Regions from separate parts of the Homo sapiens genome. Here region 1 is linked to region 2. Evidence: promoter capture Hi-C in 16 types of primary human blood cells and fetal thymus (Javierre and others, 2016). All regions are on one chromosome and are shown on one strand. The core of a region is centred on a gene start or on the middle of the fragment in contact, and the rest is flanking DNA. Distances in the headings are between cores, read along the strand shown.

Region 1 (3,312 bases), core at 678-3,177, 170 kb before region 2:
CTCTACCCTGTCCTTGCCTCTCCCAGCTGAAGCCTACTTCCTGCCTCACTGCCCCTGCCCCTGCCTCTTGTCCAAGTCGGTGCTGATGGTCATTGCAATAGCGGCACTGGGCTAGCATGAGCCAGGTGCTGGCATGCCATGTTTGCGGCTTAATTTATTCTCTTCAAGGTGGTACTAACATTTGGTTGGGTCTTAGGAAGCATAAGTAACTTGCAAGGGAAACTACACCTCTGACAACTGAGAGGTGCTGGAGCTGAGATTCCAAGGCAAGTCTTCCTTCCAGCCTGGCCACTTTCCATTCTGCCCTGTTGTGCTTCAAGATCGAGCCTTCCAGGGAGCTCCACCCCAGGGCCATTGGAATTAGGATGTGGCATGCCGAGCTGGTGGCAGAGACTCTAAAATCATAGCCAGGGAAGGTACCTGGAGGTCCTGTGGAGAGAGACTCTACTTCTGTGTGTGTGTGTGTGTGTATGTGTGTGTCTGTCTGTCTCTCTGTCTCCCAGGCTGGAGTGCAATGGTGCAAACTGCAACCTCTGCCTCCTGGGTTCAAGTGATTCTCCTGCCTCAGCCTCCCAAGTAGCTGGGATTACAGGCACCTGCCACCACACCCGGCTAATTTTTTTACTTTTAGTAAAGACAGAGTTTCACTATGTTGGCCAGGGTGGTCTTGAACTCCTGATCTCAAGTAATCCTCCTGCCTCGGCCTGCCAAAGTGCTGGGATTGTAGGCATGTGCCACTACACCTGGCCTTGTTTTGCTTTTTTTTTTTTTTTTTTTTTTTAACACATAGTTTAATCCTTTAGTTAACAAGTATTTCTTGTGCTCTAGTCTTCACAGAATTCTGTGGTGAACAAGACCTGCTGTCATTTGAGAGAGGCTCTCTCGGACTAAGGATGTGTGATACAGGCTCAGGGTACTAAGCCCCATGGCATCACCCAGAGGGAGGTCGTGGGACCCAGGCCCACCTGTGGGAGCTCAGAGCCTGCTGGTGGCAGCTGCAAGCCACCCCAAAGATAGGAGAGGTCATAGTGGCTGTGGTGGCCGGTGATGCCCACCTGGAGGCCATGTGAGCTGTGGCTGGGACTCCCTTGTCTAATCTCCCCCATATTTCTGGATTTGGCCTCCACATTGAGGAATCTCTTACTACTCAGGATCCCTGAAATACATCTGTTGCCTTCCTGCCTGAGCCCTCTCACTTCTTCCCCTTTCCCGTTTATCCATGACCCTCCCCTTAACTGTCACTCATAACCTCTGTCTGATTCACACCACTGCACTCTCTCTGCCATTCCTTCAAAGATCAAGCAGTTTCCTTCTGTTAAACAAAATGTATGGGAGGCCATTATTTGGACTGACCTCCTGCATTAGGGTCCAACAGACCCATCCAAAATGGAGTCACTCACACTAAGGTTCCGCACCACGAAACCAAAAACGAAGCTGTTTACTTGGATCTGAGCTTCTGAGAAATCAGGAGAGAGTTGATAGTCATATCCCATTAGGCTAACAAGATCCTCAATAAGGAAAGTAACTTTGAAACGGCCAATCTGCATCTTATTTCTTGTTTTGGCTTTCTTCAGCCTTTTCTGCCTATAAGCTCAGCCCTTAGCTCAGCTCATGGGAGTTCCTTTTTATTTTGTAGACTGGATACTGCCCAGTTCATGAATTGCTAATAAAGGCAAACTAGACCTTTACAGCTCAATTTATTGAAATTTTGTTATTTGATACGTCCCACAATTTAACAATTGCACCTGATTTCACATATCCATTAATCAACAAAGGAGATGCATATTTCTTGCTTATTATATGTCCAGCACTGCCCTAGGTCCTGGTTTTGGGGTGAGGTGGGAGGAAGGATCGATTAAAATAAATGCAGGAACCTGCTCTGCTCTTAAGGGTCCCCAAAGAGGAGAGCAGTGGGCTGAGTTGCAAAGTGGTTTCTCTAGGACCAGGAGCTGTGGAGATCCACAGGGATCCCAGCCACAGAGTCCCCAGCAAGGCAGGCTTGGGGTAGGAGCTTGCTGAAGGGTGTTGGTTTTTTCTTGGACACTTCTGTCCTGGTCCGACCCACCAGCAGCTGCCTGCATGGGACGACAGTGCCCCCTGGTGGTCAATTCCGGGAACTCTCCAGCAGCTGTTTTGTAAAGCCCAGAGGATTAAGCTCCCTCAAGAACTTCTATTTTTGGTTCCCAGTATTTCCATAATGAAATGCTAACAGAAGCAGCCAAATGGCTTCCCAAAGGACCTGAAAGCTGCACTGCCGAACTCCTGTGTTCTCCAGCTCTCTGCTTCCCAGGGGTCAGATCTGCTGTTGGTTCTCAGGGGCAGTTCTCTGTTCCATACGGTTTAATTAAAGGGTCCCAGGGAGAGCAACTATATGTTTGCCTTGCCGAGTCTGACCTCAGGCTGTGTGCACATTCAGAGTGACGTGTTGGAAAGAACACTGGATCCAGGATCAGGAGGCTCATCCCACGCCAGCCGCTAAGTAGCTGTGAGATAATAATTTCAATAATAGCTACATTTTATTCAGTATTTACTCTGAGCCAGACATTGCACCAAGAGCTTCACATACATTGTTGACTTTGATCCTCACAACAAGCCTGTGAGATTGATACTGCTGTCATCTCCAGAAATCGAGGCAGAGAGAAGTCAAGTAACTTGGCCAAGATCATACAGTATGTGGCAGAGTTAGGACTTGAGTTCATGTTTCTGGGCATCCACTATGCTACACTGAACTGTGGAACTCAAAGAATCGGAAACTAGTGGTAGTGTCCAGACACTGATGTTTTTAAATGTTCCCCAGGTGATGGTGATGTGGAGCCACCTTTGTAATCTATAGGGTCCCACCAGCTATAACACTCAATGAGCCCCATGCCTTCCAAGAAGCAGAGGTGAAGTTGGGATGAGGGGAGAAGCCTGGGTTCAGGCCCTAATCTCCATGGATGTACAGGGCTGAACAGAGTCACAAGCACAGCAGAAACACCATGATGGCAGAGCAGTCATCCTGCCTGCTGTCCTCTTTATCTGGAGATGGTTTGTAGGACAGGAGAGCAATTGCCTTCCACAACATTCCTCAGAGTTCGTTATGTCGCATACACCCCAATCTACAGATCCATCACCTGTCCATTTATCTCAATGCCTCTAGAGCCATTTTCTATTTTTTAATAGATTCATTTGACAAACACTTGAGACTTATGATGTGCCAGGCCCTGAGTCTGCAGGGGTGGAAGAAGCTGGCATGGCCCCACTCTTGTGAGTTGGCAATCTAGAGGAGGAGATAGACAGACAGCACATTTTGGAAAAAAAAAAAGCACACTG
Region 2 (3,338 bases), core at 671-3,170:
AATTTACACTGAGGTTAAAAGGACTGTTGAGGACTAATGCTAACAGAAGCTAACATTTATTGCGTAGGACAATACACTAAACACTTCACATGTATTATCCCATTTAATCCTCACAACAACTGCTACCCCCATTTTACAGATGAGGGAGTGGAGAGCTCAGTAACTTGCTCGAGGTCTCACAGTGGATCTTTCCAAAGCTGAAGCCTATGCTTGTTTTCAACAGCAATGATTTCAAACAAGAGTATATACATTTGTGTGTGTGTGCGTGGTAAGATATACAAAAAATTTGCCATTGTAACTATTTTGAAGTGTACAATTCAGTGCCATTAAGTACATTCACAATGCAGTGTAACCATTACTATCTAGTTCCAGAACTTTTTCACTGTCCCCAAAGGAAATCCTGTACCCATTAAGGAGTCACTCTTCATTCCCCTTCCTTCCAGTCTCTGGCAACCACTAATCTGTCTTCTGTTTCTATGGACTTGCCTGCGCTGGATATTTTATGTAAATAGCATCATACAATATGTGGCCTTTCGCACAATACGGCTGGCTTCTTTCACTTAGCATAATGTTTTCAAGTGTCAGCCTAGCGTATTATGTAATAGTACCTTATTTCTCTTTATGGCTGAATAGTATTCTGTTGTATGGATACTATACTTTTTGTTTATCCATTCATCAGTTGATAGACAGGTGTGTGTATGTTAAGAAACAGCTAGCCTTTATCTTCAAGAACTGAATCTCTAAGGTAGGATTTCAGGCCTGATGTCAAGCTGGGAGAAAAGAGAGTTGGAAGCAGGTGCTCCTTTTCAGGACTTCCAGGTAACAGCTTGGAAATTACTTATTCCTGGGCTCGCTCTGTGGGCATGGCAAGGCAGGAGGTATAGTAGCACCTGTTCCCCATGGATGTAAATGGCTTCCAAAGTACTTCTGCATAGTAGAGAGGTTAGTAGAGGAGGGCCTTTGATAGGCTCCTGGAATGTAAGCTCACACTTTCCATCCTACCCTCTTCTCCCGGCATTTCACAGGGTAGGGGGTAAGAAGAGGCACGGGGCAAACACTGGGGGCCTTGAGAAAATATTTGGGCTCCCTGACACAGGATGTTGGTATAAACATGATGGAGGAGAAATAGAGGTGGCCCCTTGGATAATTTAATCCCCCACTCAGCCCAGCCCCTTTCTGAAGTGGTTGTCCTGGATTCTCCATAACATGCATGCATACACACACACACACACACACACACACACAGAATTAATTATGCAACTTATTTGGCTTGCCCAAGCTTTTTTTGTAAGTTCTGTAGTGGTTCAGAAGGAAGATTTTAAAAGCAGCAAGACCTGTATTCAAATAATACCTCCACTGCCTACGAGTTCTACAAATGCAGGTATGTTTCACAACTTCAGGTTTTTTTTACCTGTAAGATGAGAAGCGTTGCAATAGTATCAAACTGGAATGGAGTTTGATACATAGTATGGCGCCTAGAAGAAGCAATCTCTCATGTTATTATTAAAGGTTGAGGTTATTACTAAAGATTTCCATTGTCAGCATGAACTGAGATTTTATGGAAGAGTGGGCTAAGAACCAAGACTGCGAATTCTAGGTTAAAAAAAAATTTAAACCGTGTACTCAAATGGTTCAAATTTATCCCATCATCTTGCGTTCCTGTAGACTCTGCCTAGTTGCTGAATCTTTTGAATTTGGGGTGAGGAAGGGGAAGCAACCACACATTTTCTCATTTGAAAAATTTTTATTTTGGCACCCACTTGAGTACCTGGCACGGTGGGGCTGTCCTCTATGGGGGCAATGGAGTATTAGTGAGGGCATTGTGGCCCTGGCCTGGGGGATGAGAACAAAGGGGTATGTGACAGCAACAGGTCACAAAGGGAAGCAGAAGATAAATATGGCTGCACAGGGGGTTTAGGCAGAGAGGGTCGTCACTTCCTGTCACTAGGACTACAGTTTGTAGTCTCTCTCAGGGAGAGAGACTACAAACTGTAATTAAAAAAATCAGAGGTGGAGGTCAGGGGGTTAGGTCCAGAAGAAAACCTCTCTGGAGCCCACCCTGCATCTCTACGTCTTGGAAGAGTCTGGAGTCCAGGCACCCTACAGCACCCCCCACAGCAATCATCCGTGCTCCCACCCCCACCCCGGCCTCTGGGAGGCTCTGAGGCAACAGTGGGGGCCTGTGGGGTGGGGTGGGATTGAGAGACCAGCTGCAGAGACATCTTTGTGACCCAGGAGCACCACTGGTCCCTCATCTGCCACCGAGGCCAAGGAAGACCCAGAGACCTGCCTCACCAGTGCTGCCGTTGTGCTGAAAGACAACCATGAATGCTGATTTTCTGCTGCCGTATTATACGGCCCAGAGTGGCTCCAGCATGAGCATGTTCAACACCACCATGGGGAAACTGCAGCGACAACTGTACAAGGGGGAGTACGATATATTCAAGTATGCACCGATATTTGAGAGCGACTTTATCCAGATCACCAAAAGGGGAGAAGTGATTGATGTGCACAACCGTGTCCGTATGGTGACCATGGGCATTGCACGTACCAGCCCCATCCTCCCACTCCCAGATGTCATGCTACTGGCACGACCGGCCACCGGCTGCGAAGAGTATGCTGGACATGGCCAGGCCACCAAGAGAAAAAAACGCAAGGCAGCAAAGAACTTAGAGCTCACCAGGCTTCTGCCCCTGAGGTTTGTACGGATCTCTGTTCAAGACCATGAGAAACAACAGCTGCGCCTGAAGTTCGCCACTGGCAGATCTTGCTATCTGCAATTGTGTCCCGCTCTTGACACACGGGATGACCTCTTTGCCTATTGGGAAAAACTAATTTACCTCTTGCGGCCACCCATGGAGAGTAACAGCAGTACCTGTGGCATTCCAGCTGAAGACATGATGTGGATGCCTGTGTTTCAGGAAGACAGGAGGAGCCTGGGAGCCGTGAACCTTCAAGGAAAGGGGGATCAGGACCAGGTCAGCATCCAAAGCCTCCACATGGTCTCTGAGGTGTGTGGGGCCACCTCTGCTGCTTATGCTGGAGGGGAGGGACTCCAAAATGACTTTAACAAACCCACTAATGTGCTCAATGCATCCATCCCCAAAACATCTACAGAACTTGCTGAGGAGCCAGCAACAGGGGGGATTAAAGAGGCAGCAGCAGCAGGGGCAGCTGCAGGGGCAGCAACAGGCACCGTAGCAGGTGCCTTGAGTGTGGCAGCAGCCAATTCTGCCCCTGGACAGGTGAGCGCAGCCATAGCTGGGGCGGCCACCATCGGTGCAGGAGGAAACAAAGGCAACATGGCCCTTGCAGGCACTGCCAGCATGGCTCCAAAC

Evidence for each region. Contacts are between HindIII fragments. The CHiCAGO score rates a contact against its expected background, and 5 or more counts as called.
Region 1: a contact is called between a fragment that was not itself captured here and the fragment with the promoter of GARIN4 in region 2, in 3 of 17 cell types (M1 macrophages, M0 macrophages and M2 macrophages). The highest score is 6.6, in M1 macrophages.

What each region holds. Positions count from the first base shown.
Region 1 is chr1:212,453,964-212,457,275 of GRCh38, forward strand. No RefSeq gene overlaps it. Among named protein-coding and RNA genes, the nearest start is that of LINC02771, 17 kb to the right of the region's middle. The HindIII fragment of the contact is 6,682 bases long and covers 1-3,312 here.
Region 2 is chr1:212,622,554-212,625,891 of GRCh38, forward strand. It overlaps GARIN4 (golgi associated RAB2 interactor family member 4), which reads left to right and starts at 1,921. Exons shown (of 1, transcript NM_153606.4): 1 at 1,921-3,338. The coding sequence starts at 2,325. The HindIII fragment of the contact is 9,349 bases long and covers 1,278-3,338 here.